Linked DNA regions of Homo sapiens: region 1 is linked to region 2. The links are contacts of gene promoters, found by promoter capture Hi-C in blood cells and fetal thymus (Javierre and others, 2016). All regions are on one chromosome and are shown on one strand. Each heading gives the region's core, a stretch centred on a gene start or on the middle of the fragment in contact. The rest is flanking DNA. Distances are from core to core; before and after follow the strand shown.

Region 1 (7,617 bases), core at 2,158-4,657, 280 kb before region 2:
CCATTAACAACAACAACAAAAAATGCTGTAGAGAGACTAATAATGAGGAACAACACAATGAGACATTAAAGTGGAGACATATCATGATTTTTTTTTTTGAGGCGGAGTCTCACTCTTTCGCCCGGGCTGGAGTGCAGTGACGCTATCTCAGCTCACTGCAAGCTCTGCCTCCCGGGTTCACGCCATTCTCCTGCCTCAGCCTACAGGTGCCCATCACCGCATTTGGCTAATTTTTTGGCATTTTTAGTAGAGACGGGGTTTCACCGTGTTAGCCAGGATGGTCTCGATCTCCTGACCTCGTGATCTGCCCACCTCAGCCTCCCAAAGTGCTGGGATTACAGGCGTGAGCCACCGTGCCCGGCCGACATATCATGATTTCTAAATTCCTTGTTCTGAGTCTTCTTTACTCATTTGCAAACTTGATGACCTCAGAGCTTGGAATGAACCTTACAGTCCTTCCCTTACGCTTTCACCCTAACAGATTTCACTGCTTCTTTTGGTATACTGAAGGCATTGGTATCTCCAGTTCTAGTCTCTCCTACTAGTTCCAATCATAAATTACAATGGTCTAATTGATGCATCACTTGGATAGAGAAGACAGAAAATGGTGAGATGCGTGTAAGGCAATCAAGAGCCTAAGTCATCAAATAGTAATAACACATATATTCAAGGCAGCATAAGCAATTAAAAAGCAAGTGACAGACCAGTATGTGTAGTATGCTCTTTCATTAGAAACTATATTAACGAATACAGGTTGCAAACAAGTTTAAATAGCTAAACATCCAGTTAACAATAGTAACCTAAGAGGGTGGAAAGGTTGGGGTTGAGGCATTTTACATTTCATTTATATTTTTGTATTTGATCTTTTTAATTTTGCTTTTATTACACCTCATAAGTTACTTTTCAACAAAATTGAACTTCTCTCTCAAAATTTACTTATATCTGGTTATTACCTTAATCTGTTTGCAAATTTTCTAACATTTTTGTATCCTAACAACATCTGCAATAAGTACAATTAGACGGAAGAAAAAAATGAAATGGTCACTCTTTTATCTAACAAAAATAAACAGCAAATTTTAGCACTTAAAAAGATTATAAAAATAGTGTCATGCATACATCCGAAAAACACATTCTTTAGAAAGTATAAAAGGATATACGTAATGTATACAAAGCTTACCTCAAGAAAGTGACAGATGCAGAAAATTATCTTTTGTTTGTGCATCCTTATTACAGTAAGTATATATTACTAATTTTGTATTTTTGAAATAGGAAATCTTTTTTAACTTTATAGAGGCAGCAAAGATACATCAAATAAAACTGAAAAGGCTACAACAAATACATTTTAAATAGTCTCATAAGCATTAAAATCACACTGAAATGAAATGCATAACAAAAACAAAAAATTAAAGTCACAACCCTTTCAAATATGACTTTAATATACTGGGATTTTCTTCAGAGGGAAAGAGGAAGTTAAGAACTTCTAGGAAACATTTTAATAATTCATATGATAAGTTCTAAGGAATTTTAGTTTTCTAAAGACAAAACATCATGACTATAATCTATTAAGTCAAATGGCAACTTAAATCCAAGATACAACATTCAGAATTTCCTTTAATAAAAGAAATCACTACCTGAAAGGACATCTGATAAATCAATTTCATCTGACTGGACACCAATGCTGCTGTTATAAACATTTTTACAAGAAGAGCCACTCATCTCCAAATCAAAGAGGACTGGATCAAATGGTGAGCTATATAATCCATATCTGAAAAATAAAATAATGCACTAACAATTTTCCTTTCAGCCATCTAATTAACAAATTACCTTTACTTAGTTTTAAAAGCAGTCTGACTAACAGCGCAGAGGGCTCTCCCTCTCCCCTCTCCCCTCTCCCCTCTCCCCTCTCCACGGTCCCCTTCCACGGTCTCCCTCTGATGCCGAGCCGAAGCTGGACTGTACTGCTGCGATCTCGGCTCACTGCAACCTCCCTGCCTGATTCTCCTGCCTCAGCCTGCCGAGTGCCTGCCATTGCAGGCGCGCGTCGCCACGCCTGACTGGTTTTCGGTTTTTTTTGGTGGAGACGGGGTTTTGCTGTGTTGGCCGGGCTGGTCTCCAGCTCCTAACCGCGAGTGATCCGCCAGCCTCGGCCTCCCGAGGTGCCGGGATTGCAGACGGAGTCTCGTTCACTCAGTGCTCAATGGTGCCAAGGCTGGAGTGCAGTGGCGTGATCTCGGCTCGCTACAACCACCTCCCAGCCGCCTGCCTTGGCCTCCCAAAGAGCCGAGATTGCAGCCTCTGCCCGGCCGCCACCCCGTCTGGGAAGTGAGGAGCGTCTCTGCCTGGCCGCCCATCGTCTGGGATATGAGGAGCCCCTCTGCCTGGCTGCCCAGTCTGGAAAGTGAGGAGCGTTTTTGCCCGGCCGCCATCCCATCTAGGAAGCGAGGAGCGCCTATTCCCCGCCGCCATCCCATTTAGGAAGTGAGGAGCGTCTTTGCCCGGCCGCCCATCGTCTGAGAGGTGGGGAGCACCTCTGCCCCGCCGCCCTGTCTGGGATGTGAGGAGCGCCTCTGCCCGGCCGCCCCGTCTGAGAAGTGAGGAAACCCTCTGCCTGGCAACCGCCCCGTCTGAGAAGTGAGGAGCCCCTCCGTCCAGCAGCCACCCCGTCTGGGAAGTGAGGAGCGTCTCCGCCCGGCAGCGACCCCGTCCGGGAGGGAGGTGGGGGGATAGGGGGGCCCGCCCGGCGAGCGGCCCCGTCCGGGAGGTGAGGGGCTCCTATGCCCGGCCGCCCCTACTGGGAAGTGAAGAGCCCCTCTGCCCGGCCAGTCGCCCCGACCAGGAGGGAGGTGGGGGGGGTCAGCCCCCCGCCCGGCCAGCCGCCCAGTCCGGGAGGGGGGAGGGGGGGTCAGCCCCCTGCCCGGCCAGCCGCGCCGTCCGGGAGGGAGGTGGGGGGATCAGCCCCCCGCCTGGCCAGCCGCCCCGTCCGGGAGGTGAGGGGCGCCTCTGCCCGGCCGCCCCTACTGGGAAGTGAGGACCCCTCTGCCCGGCCAGCCGCCCCGTCCGGGAGGGAGGTGGGGGGATCAGCCCCCCGCCCGGCCAGCCGCCCAGTCCGGGAGGGAGGTGGGGGGTCAGCCCCCCGCCCGGCCAGCCGCCCCGTCCGGGAGGGAGGTGGGGGGATCAGCCCCCCGCCCGGCCAGCCGCCCCATCCGGGAGGTGAGGGGCGCTTCTGCCCGGCCGCCCCTACTGGGAAGTGAGGAGCCCCTCTGCCCGGCCACGACCCCGTCTGGGAGGTGTGCCCAGCGGCTCATTGGGGATGGGCCATGATGACAATGGCGGTTTTGTGGAATAGAAAGGCGGGAAGGGTGGGGAAAAAATTGAGAAATCGGATGGTTGCCGGGTCTGTGTGGATAGAGGTAGACATGGGAGACTTTTCATTTTGTTCTGTACTAAGAAAAATTCTCCTGCCTTGGGATCCTGTTGATCTGTGACCTTATCCCCAACCCTGTGCTCTCTGAAACATGTGCTGTGTCCACTCAGGGTTAAATGGATTAAGGGCGGTGCAAGATGTGCTTTGTTAAACAGATGCTTGAAGGCAGCATGCTCGTTAAGAGTCATCACCACTCCCTAATCTTAAGTACCCAGGGACACAAACACTGCGGAAGGCCGCAGGGTCCTCTGCCTAGGAAAACCAGAGACCTTTGTTCACTTGTTTATCTGCTGACCTTCCCTCCACTATTGTCCTATGACCCTGCCAAATCCCCTTCTGCGAGAAACACCCAAGAATGATCAATAAAAAAAAAAAAAAAAAAAAAAAAAAAAAAAAACAGCGCAGAGGGAGATGCTGACTAGATTTGACCCATCAAATTCAGTGAATCTCAACTATGTTCCCTGCAATCTATACTCTAAAAGACACTGTCCAGAGACTCAACAAATGTGATTCCAATAAGCTGGCAACTAAGGTACTAAGACTGCCACCTGCAGATTGAAGCGAGGGGTATCAGGCACCATTCTCTCCCGTGAATCATTACGACATAGCCTCAAGTACAAAGGCTTTGAGTAAAATGTCATCAAAATCAGAACATCTAACCTAGGAAATTATAAAATCACTGCTCTAAATAAAGGAACGCCTTACTTCAAACGTAGACAATCAGGCAAGAACTTAAATCTAACCTTTTGCTATTGCTTAATTCATCACGTTAGAAGTTTTGAAATACAAGTAGCAGGTAGAAGAATACTAGTTATGGGACAATAAGTGACTCACATAATTCCACCTATAAAGTGCACAGAGAAACAGACACATTACATTCTTCTTCCATTAGCAGGGCATACCACTTTTCATTATTAAATAAAATTAGCCCTCTGAATAACCATCATAAGGATTTATCAAACTGTTAAAGAGTAATTTCTGGCCGGGCACGGTGGCTCATGCCTGTAATCCCAGCACTTTGGGAGGCTGAGGCGGGCGGATCAACTGAGGTTGGGAGTTTGCGAACAGCCTGACCAACATGAAGAAACCCCGTCTCTACTAAACATACAAAATTAGCCAGGCCTGTGGTGCATGCCTGTAATCCCAGCTACTCGGGAGGCTGAGGCAGGAGAATCGCTTGAACCCGGGAGATGGAGGTTGTGGTGAGCTGAGATCACACCATTGCACTCCAGCCTGGGCAACAAGAACAAAACTCCATCTCGATAAAAAAAAAAAAGAGTAATTTCTGACAAAACAGAAGAAAGTAAAACCTCAGGCTATTATCGTATGGAAAAAGTAAGGTATAAACTAAACATTTTTGTAAGAAAAAGACTGTTATCAGCATATATATATTAAATAACAGTTCTCTGCAAAAGCGTGATCATACTCAGAGACGCCTATTATTAGTCATTAGATATACTAAAATACCTTGTCTGAAGTAAAGCCTCCATTGGTGTTAGCCTGTCCTGTAACTGTCTGGACACTGCAGTAAGCAAAGATGCACAAGCTGTACTGCATCCAGCCAGATCTTCATCTTTCACATAATTCAGTAAGACAAAATACCAATAGACAGAACCTGGAAACAATAAAAACAAAATAAATGTTTCTTTTTCCTCCTTTTCCTCTAACAATGAGAATTTAAGATTACCTATTTATCAGAATACTTCCTTTTGCTAGAAAGATACTCCCTTTTCTGGAAAGACAATCTTATAGGCAATTTACAAAGATAACTCCTTGGAGGGATCAAAGAGGACACTTAAAATATAAACAACACACTGAGGCACAGTCTTACACTAAGAATTTCAAATATTTCTGGAGAGTTTTATAAAGTCATTTAGGTGTATAATAATGTGTATTTATTTAGGTGTATAATAATGTGAGATGCCTCTGAGGGACACTTCGAAATAGCTGAAAAAGTGAGGAGACTGAAGGTCCTTCAAATCATCCTTACCAACATACTGTTTCTCTGTACTAAACTTTAAAAAATAGTGGATGGCAGTGAGCTTCAAACAGCCCATTTTAGTGAATGAATGGGGAATAAAATTATTCTATAATGCGTTAGGTACAGATCGACATTGCTTAAAAGATTATCATGACAGTGTATTTTTACTTTTATTAACTGCTACATACATGCCAAAACTTAAGCGTCCCAACTTTAAAACTATCCTTAAGAAGCTTTTAAACATTAGAGACTATCGTAATGAGCAACTGAGTCAAAATGTTCTATTCCATAGAGTTAATGGTTGTAGCCAAAATATGTTCAATGTAAATATAAACACGCTTTACCTAAATTAAGAAAATGATATAACTTTTCAACAACTCTAAACAAGCATTTTTTTTGTTTAACACAAAGATGAAATCTTTATGAAATATATAACTCACTGAGGTAACTTGTTGAATGGGTTGTTTTTTTAAACTCCTGGCCTCAAGCAATCCTCCCTCCATGGCCTCCCGAAGTGCTGGGATTACAAGTGTGAGCCACTGTGCCCAGCCTGAATGGTTTGTTTTTTAATAAAACAGATTGTGAAAAATGTCTATCAATAAATAAAATTTGGCTTAAAAGGCCAAGTTAGTAGCCCTTCATAGTAACACCATGTACTAGCAAAAACAGTAAGAATCTTTAAAAATCTTCATTACCTTATATATGTGCTATTTTAGAGAACTGCTTTATGAATTCCTACTTGATAACTACCTTCATTCTTTTTTGATACATAATAATTGCACATATATAGGGGGTATATGTGATGTTTTGAAATATGGATGCAATGCACAATGATCAAACCAGGGTATTTAGGATATCCATCACCTCTCTGCATTGGGAACACTTTAAATCTTTTAACTATTCTGAAATATACCACAAATTACAGTCACCCTACTGTGCTATCAAACACTAGAACTTATTTCTTCTAACCATATGTTCATACTAATTTATCAACCTCTCTTCAAATCCCACTCACCCTCCCAGACTCTGGTATCCATCATTCTACTCTCTACCTCCAATTACATTCATTCTTGAAAGGCATTTCCACAGAGTCCTCAGGTGCTTTAAAAAAAAAAAAAAAAAACCACTGGTCCCTTTTAGGAAATTCCAGTTTGCCATAGTCCCTACCAATCACACAAAACATATGCATGTGCAATGACACCTGGACCGTTTTACTTATTTATGTCACCTCCCTGGCACATGCTGGAATTCTGGTTTCTGGCATCTGATCTGTTACAGTCAGTAAACAACCAAACAACTCAATGATTGTAATGAAGTACAGAAAAATAGTTATGAATTGAGATGACTTGATATTAACGTAACTGCTCCATGAACCTTTTCCTTGGAGTACTATTGACGGAGTATATGACCACCCAGCTACAATCTATCGATCCCTTCAAAAAATACAGATAAGCCACAGAAAAGTGAACTTTAATAGAGAAAAAGTAGTTATGAAATAATCCTAAGTATACATATGAGATGTTCCATATGACTATAACTATTTGTGATTAAATTAATTTTACATACCACCAGTTGTTGCTGCAGGTAAAAATGACATATTATCAAGTAAAGCCTTCAACAGAACAGGTCCAAATGCTGGTTGACATGGGTCACATTTGCCATTACTGAAAAATTTTTAAAAAGAAAAATTGTAAAGACATTACTCAAGGTCTAAATTCAACCCTAAACCTGGTGTGGTACCTAAAAATCTTTAAAATGTATTCTATACCGATTAAAAGAAAAACCTGCCTTAAAGCTATATAAAATACCAAAAGATAGCGGGAACTGATTATACTAAGGAGGGTTGTAAATATTTTCTTATGCATTAAACCCTTATCTTTACAACAGTCAATACTGACCATTAGCTCTTAGACACTTCCTAGATACAGTAGCAAGTAGGAACCTTTAAACATTAAGAACCCGTATATGCAGTTTCAATTTCTAAAGTTTCAGTTACACATGGTCAAGTGCAGTCTAAACACAGGTGAGTACAGTACAATAAGACATGTTGAGAGACCACATTCATGTAACTTTTATCATAGTATATTATTATAACTGTTCTATTTTATTAGTAGTTATTGTTAATCTCTTACTATGCCTAGTTTATAAATTAAACTTTATTGCAGGTATGTATATATAGGAAAAAACAATACTATATATATGGCTCAGTACT
Region 2 (7,004 bases), core at 2,900-5,399:
AACAGACAATAGGCCAATTTTCTCTATACACAATGAGCTTCCACAAACTATTTTTAAAAAGATGAATAACCCAGTTTTAAAAGTTACACATTTATAAAGCTGGCCAAATCAGTACCTGCTCATTATTCACATTTGCTTTTGCAACTTTGTATTGTTAATGTGAAATCATGATTTCTCTTGATACTTTAAAAATAAAAATGGTATGCCTCTCCCTATACACAGTCACATCCATCTCTTGAACCTCAGTTCCAGCTGCTTTTGAGGAGGACAGTCTGATTTTAAATATAGGCTACACGGCAAACAGGATATTCACTCTGTCGCAGCCCCATTCTGCGGTGAAGGAGTAGCTGGGACTACAGGTACCCACCACCACGCCCGGCTAATTTTTTTTTACCTTTAGTAGAGACGGGGTTTCACCGTGTTAGCCAGGATGGTCTTGATCTCCTGACCTCGTGATCCGCCCGCCTTGGCCTCCCAAAGTGCTGGGATTACAGGCGTGAGCCACCGCACCCAGCCAATAAATATATCTTTTTCTTGGCTGGCCATGGTGGCTCATGCCTGTAATTCCACCACTTTGGGTGACTGAGTCAGGAGGATCAGTTGAGCCCAGGAGTTCAAGACCAGCCTAGGAAATATACTGAGACCCTGTCTCTACAAAAAAATTGAAAAGAAAAAAATTAGCCAGGCATAGTGGTACATGCCTGTAGTCCCAGCTACTCAGGACACCAAGGTGGAAGGATCGCATGAGCCCGGGAAGTCAAGCAGTGAGCCAGGTTCACACTTTACTCAAGCCTGGGCAACAGAGCGAGACCCCATCTCGAAATAAATAAATAAATACATAAATAAATGTACATATGTATAAATATTATATATATGTGTATGTACATATGTATATATATTCTTTTCTTAAAGAATTATGTGTGAGTTATTTTGGTTCCAAAGATTTAAAAAATTCTCCTTAATACTGTTATTTTGGACATCTTCTGTTTAACCCTAGCCAACTTTAAGTTTCAGGTTAAGAGAATCAACAAGGTTTCTAAGAGGCAGAAAGCCACTTCTGATGCCATCCTGACAATGAAAATAAAACAAAAATCCTAATGTCATATCACTCTTCCCAAAATTATATTGGCTCGCCATTGCTATCAGAATAAACTACAAATTTTACAACCTGAATTTCCAGGTTTTCAATGACTTAGCCTGTTTCTTTCCAGTCTTATCTCTTACTCCAGATAGAAACCCTCAACTTCAGTTAAACTGGTCTACTCTTTTGTCTCATGACCACTCTTGCGTGAAAAGGCCAGATCTGTCTAACCCAAGCTCTTATTCATATAATGACAAACAAGTATTAGATTAAGAGTATTAGAGTGGGGCACAAAGTACTTAGTTTCATGTTTCACTTCTTAAATGAAGTCTTCCTAGATCATTCCAAACTATAGTGTTTTTTATGCCACTTATTTTGCATTAACCAAAGTAAAGCCTTCAACTTGTTACATTGCTTTGTAATTTTAGTAACTTCACTAATGACAAGGGCTATTTTCCTTTATATTTTGTTTTTATATACTTATATTTTTAATATTATATATTTATATTATTTATATTTTCTAAGAAGGCACTGTTTTCACACAGCATGTTAATAAACACAAAACCTTTTTCTCAATATTTTATTTTAAAATATTTATTTTAAAAAATAAACCTTAAATACTGTTTCCCTGCATGACTAATACTGATGTTTCAAGCATAAAGATATAGTGCCATAGGTTTTCAGTGCTTTATAAAACAGACGTTTTATTTGTATTTTTCTTTATATTTTCTAAGAAAGTACTGTTTTCACATAGCATGTTCTTAATAAACGCAAAACCTTTTCTCAATATCCTTTAAAATAAACCTTAAATACTGTTTCCCTGCATGACTAATACTAATGTTTCAAGCATAAAGATATAGTGCCATAAGTTTTCAGTGTCTTATAAAACAGATGTTTATTGAAAACTTCCTCTGGGCCAGGCACGCTACAAAGCTCTGGGAATTAGGGTGAAATACATAGGTCCTGCTCTCAATGAGCTTACAGTCTAGAAAGTGAGAAAGACAAATAAGTACACAACTTTAACATCGTCTGTAAGGATTACAGATGTTACTGGTAAAAAACACAAGAGATTCAAGTTTTACTTTCTTAAATTAGGGCTGTGAGTTAATGAAGGTGTATAATCTGAAAGACCTCTGAATTTTAAGTCTCTTATCCCTTTATCTTCAACTCCCTTCAAATCATCAGTATTATAGGCAAGTTAAGTTTCTATTGTATGTATTCGTTTTGTGCAGCTTTATGTAACAAAACTGGTGTGTGTGTGTGTGTGTTTGTGCATATAAAAGCACAAGGTACCACCAGAGCACAAAGGAGAAGCAACTAAGAGGATACTGGAACATGAGGGAAAGGTTCATGAAAAATAATTAAGGATATATAAGGGTTATTCTGATAAGGACAGCCGATAGAGAACAGAGAACAATTCTGGGGATGGAAGAGCATATGCAAATTAGGTACAAAGGCTCAATTAATACAGCATGATTTGCAAGCTATTCACTGTGGCTGAAATACGGATGTTGCATACATGTATGCATTAAAAAAAAAAAAAAAAAAAGAGTTTGTGGCCTGGCACGGTGGCTCACGCCTGTAATCCCAGCACTTTGGGAGGCAGAGGCGGGAGGATCACCTGAGGTCAGGAGTTCGCGATCAGCCTGACCAACATGGAGAAACCCCGTCTCTACTAAAAATACAAAATTAGCCAGGCGTGGTGGCGCATTCCTGTAATCCCAGCTGCTCGGGAAGGTGAGGCAGGAGAATCGCTTGAACCCGGGAGGCGGAAGTTGTGGTGAGCCGCGATCGCGCCATTGCACTCCAGCCTGGGCAACAAGAGTGGAACTCCGTCTCGAAAACAACAACAAAAAAAGAGGCTGTAAAAGTAAGAAGCTTGATAATGAGTGGCTTTGTATGCCATGCTAAACAGGACTTTATCTTGAGTGCTACAGAAAAAAAAAAAAGGAGAAAATTTGAGTAAGGGAGTGATGTGGTCAAATTTTAGAAATATAACTCTGGCTACAGGCTTCACAATGGTGAATGTTTTGAAGAAGAGCGTAACTGAAGGCTATTTGATCATTAGCCAAAAAGTGTAAACTTTTACCCATTTTCTGTGTGCAAAAGGATTACAGAAAATTTACAAAACATAAAGTGTGTGAATGAGGCATTTTCCCGACCATATCCACTTAAGTAAAAAACTTAGTACAGTGACAAAAGCTTAGGCACAGAAATGTGGTCTCTTTCTCATACGTAGGCTATCAATAAGTACTCCATAAATTTTTCTAATAAATGCATTTTCAAAAGGCACACGCCACTTGGACACTTCAAATCCCAACCAACTGCTTATCTTTAAAGTTCAGAGCTATATATTTGAGCTCTAAAGGCAAAGAATGACTAATTCTAACAAATTTGAGAGAAAACACCATATCCCAACAACCATAACGTCTACTGGGTCTTCCATTAGTTTCTACAAACCCAGAAATAAAGCAGCAATAAAATGTCCTACCAACACCTTGACTTTCTGTAGTTACTGCGCTTATGAAATTTGCTGCCGTAATCAGGCTACTTAATATTTAGTAAAGCCAAGTTGCAGAGTGAGACGTCTGCCCTAAAACCCTATTACTAACCTTTTTTTTTTTTTTCCGCTGGCGTTATCGCCACTGCTCTAAGAATCACTATTACAGTTGTTGCTGTGGACTTGTTTTCAGATCTTTTGTTGGTGGCCTAGTTGTTGACGCTGGCAAAAACTTTTATTACCTTAAAGAAATCTCGGCAGAGGGAAGTCAGAAACTCGCCAGGAGCTGAAAGCTCTGCCTGCAGCGGGGCCTAGATCGTGAGCGCCTGCGGAACAGGTGAGGGACCGAAAGGGACCAGAACTCTGAAGGGGAACATTTTGGGAGACAGCCGCTCCTGCCAAGGGGCCCGACTTCAACTCCAATGACCCCTCCTCTGGGTGGCTGAGGGATTTCAAGGTCGCTTCGGGACCAAATAAGATAAACCGAATCAGCTACAGCCGAAACCCTCACCCCAACAGCCAACTCACCATGATAAGGAGCTGCACAGCTCCCGCCGGAAGCCGTTCTGGGTGCTCGAGTTTTCCCAGAACGGAAGGGGTGGGGCACCAGTGGGCGATTGGCTGTGAGGAAAGCGTGGGAGGAAGTGCGTGCTCTGGCCTCCGGCTTCCGTCCCCTTCCCGGCTGTCCCTGCACTCCGTGGCGGAAGGCGGCTAGAGCGGCTCCCTCTGAGCTCTCCGAGAGATTGGTCGGGACCTGAAGCGTTGAGGTTAAGGGCAAGGCAAGGAGCAACGAGGAGTTTTTCGTTACGTTAGAAAAATTTCGTTGCGTGCTGAAGCGCTTTTACCTGTGTTGTATGATTTAACCTTATGAAAATGGACAGTATTCCAGTTTTACAAGTGAGGAAAGAAGATTAAGAAACTTGCCTCCGCCAGGCGTGGTGGTTCACTCCTGTAATCCCAGCACTTTCGGCGGCGAGGCAGGCGGATCACTTGAGGTCAGGAGTTCGAGACCAGCCTGGCCAACATGGTGAAACCCCGGCTCTACTAAAAATGCAAAAATTAGCCGGGCGTAGTGGCACGCGCCTGTAATCCCAGCTACTCTGGAGGCTGAGGCAGGAGAATCGCTTGAACCTAGGAGGCGGAGGTTGCAGTGAGCCGAGATCGCGCCACTACACTCCAGCCTGGGCGACAGCGCGAGACTCCGTCTCAAAAAAAAGAAACTTGCCTTGAGTCCTACATATAGTTTGCTGTAGTAGCAGAATTTGAACTCGGACCGACTAATGGTCTACTTAATAAAATGCTATTTGGATTCTCTATAAAATTAATAATATAGAAGTAATGTTAATTATAGAAAACTTGGAAAATATTAAATTCATTCGATAAAGATTGAATATGTAGCACGTGTGTTTGTCAGATACTGGTCTCGTGAAAATTATATTCTGGTAGGGAAGACAGAAAACAAGTAGGGATAAAGAAATTTTTAAAAGATATTCATAAGTAGTGTCGTGTAGAAAACTGGGTATAGGTTGAGTATCCTTCATCCCAAATGCTTAAGACCAGAACTGTTTCAGATTGTGGCTCTTTATCTTGGGGATGGGGCCAGAGGCTAAACTTGAAATTCATTTATGTTTCGTATACACCTTATGCACATAGCCTCAGGGTAATTTTATGCAATTTTAAAAATTGTGTGTGTATCAAACAAAATTTTGACTACAGCTTTTTACATGCGGTCAGGTGTGGAATTTTCCACTGTGGCATCGTGTTGATGATCAAAAAGTTTTGATTTTGGAGCATTTTAATTTCAGATGGTTGGATTAGGGTTGCTGAACATGTAATGGTATACAGAACAACTGAGTAGGTGTGGTGCTCACGTCTGTAATCCCAGCACTTTGGGAGGCCTAGGCGGGCGAATCACGAGGTCAGGAGTTTGAGACCAGCCTGGCCAACATGGTGAAACCCTGTCTGTACTAAAGATAAAAAAAATTAGCTGGGCGTAGTGGCGGGTGCCTGTAATCCCAGCTGCTAAGAAGGCTGAGGCAGGAGAATTGCTTGAACCCGGGAGGCAGAGGTTGCAGTGAGGCGAGATCGTGCCCCTGCTCTCCAGCCTGGGCAACAGTGCAACACTTCATCTCAAAAAAATAAATAAGAAGTAAAAAATAAATAAAATCGTAGGTATTATCATCTATCGACAATCTGTTCTCCACACTGCAGCCACAGTAATCTTTTTTAGTAGAGGAGAGGTCTTGCTATGTTGCGCAGGCTGGTCTGGAACTCCTGGGCTCAAGTGATCCTCCTGCCTCAGCCTCCCAAGATGCTAGCATTACAGGCATGAGCCAACACCCCTGTCCTATACCTAGGATTTAATGAACATTCAATATGTGGTAGGCAGTATTCTAAGAATTTGAGGCCAGGCACAGTGCCTCATGCCTGTAATCCCAGCACTTTGGGAGGCTGAGGCAGGCAGATCACTTGAGGTCAAGAGTTTGAGATCAGCCTGGCCAACATGGCAAAACCCCGTCTCTACTAAAAATATAAAACTTAGCCGGGTGTGGTGGCAGGCACCTGTAATCTCAGCTACTCGGGAGGCTGAGGCAGGAGAATTGCTTGAACCCAGGAGGCGGAGGTTGCACTGAGCTGAGATGAAGCCTGGGTGAGAGAGATTCCATCTCAAAAAAAAAAAAAAAAAGCCGGGTGCAGTGGCTCATGCCTGTAATCCCAGCACTTTGGGAGGCCAAAGCGGGTGGATCACGAGGTCAGGTTTTTGAGACTAGCCTGGCCAACATAGTGAAACCCCGTCTCTATTGAAAATAGCCAGGTGTGGTGGCAGGAGCCTGTAATCCCAGCTACTCAGGAGGCTGAGGCAGGAGAATCACTTGAACCTGGGAGGCAGAGGTTGCAGTGGGCCGAGATCGTGCCATTGCACTCCAGCCCAGGCGACAGTGCAAGACTCTGTCTCAAAAAAAAAAAAAAAAAAAAAAAGCACGATTATGTGTTAGCTCATTTAATCCTCATAACAGCCTTTGACATAGGTACTACTATTATCCCCTGCTTGGGAAAATCACACACCTAATCAGTGGCAGATTATAGACACGTGCCACCACGCCCGGCTAATTTTTGTATTTTTAGTAGAGTCAGGGTTTCACCATGTTGTGCAGGCTGGTCTCAAATGCCTGACCTCAGGTGATCTACCTGCCTTGGCCTCCCAAAGTGCTGGGATTACAGGCATGAGCCACTGCACCCGGCCTGGAGAGGTACCTTTAAACCATATAAATATCACATTCCTCATTATGCTTGTAATTTGTTTATGTTTGTATTCATATATTCACATGAGCTCATGGTTTATTTCTTCTGATGGGTTATAATTAATTACTACTATTACTTATTTTGATGCTCAAATTTGTCCAGTGGGAACCCTTTTAATCT

Evidence for each region. Contacts are between HindIII fragments. The CHiCAGO score rates a contact against its expected background, and 5 or more counts as called.
Region 1: a contact is called between a fragment that was not itself captured here and the fragment with the promoter of SLC30A6 in region 2, in 2 of 17 cell types (total CD8 T cells and neutrophils). The highest score is 5.7, in total CD8 T cells.

What each region holds. Positions count from the first base shown.
Region 1 is chr2:32,442,943-32,450,559 of GRCh38, reverse strand. It overlaps BIRC6 (baculoviral IAP repeat containing 6), which reads right to left. Exons shown (of 74, transcript NM_016252.4): 20 at 6,972-7,069; 21 at 4,892-5,039; 22 at 1,632-1,765. Among named protein-coding and RNA genes, the nearest start is that of MIR558, 85 kb to the left of the region's middle. RefSeq lists an enhancer at 2,718-3,295. The HindIII fragment of the contact is 4,466 bases long and covers 1,175-5,640 here.
Region 2 is chr2:32,163,009-32,170,012 of GRCh38, reverse strand. SLC30A6 (solute carrier family 30 member 6) reads right to left here and starts at 4,149. Exons shown (of 14, transcript NM_017964.5): 1 at 4,110-4,149. The coding sequence starts at 4,112. SLC30A6-DT (SLC30A6 divergent transcript) reads left to right here and starts at 4,274. Exons shown (of 1, transcript NR_185886.1): 1 at 4,274-4,972. RefSeq lists an enhancer at 2,313-2,829. The HindIII fragment of the contact is 4,145 bases long and covers 3,286-7,004 here.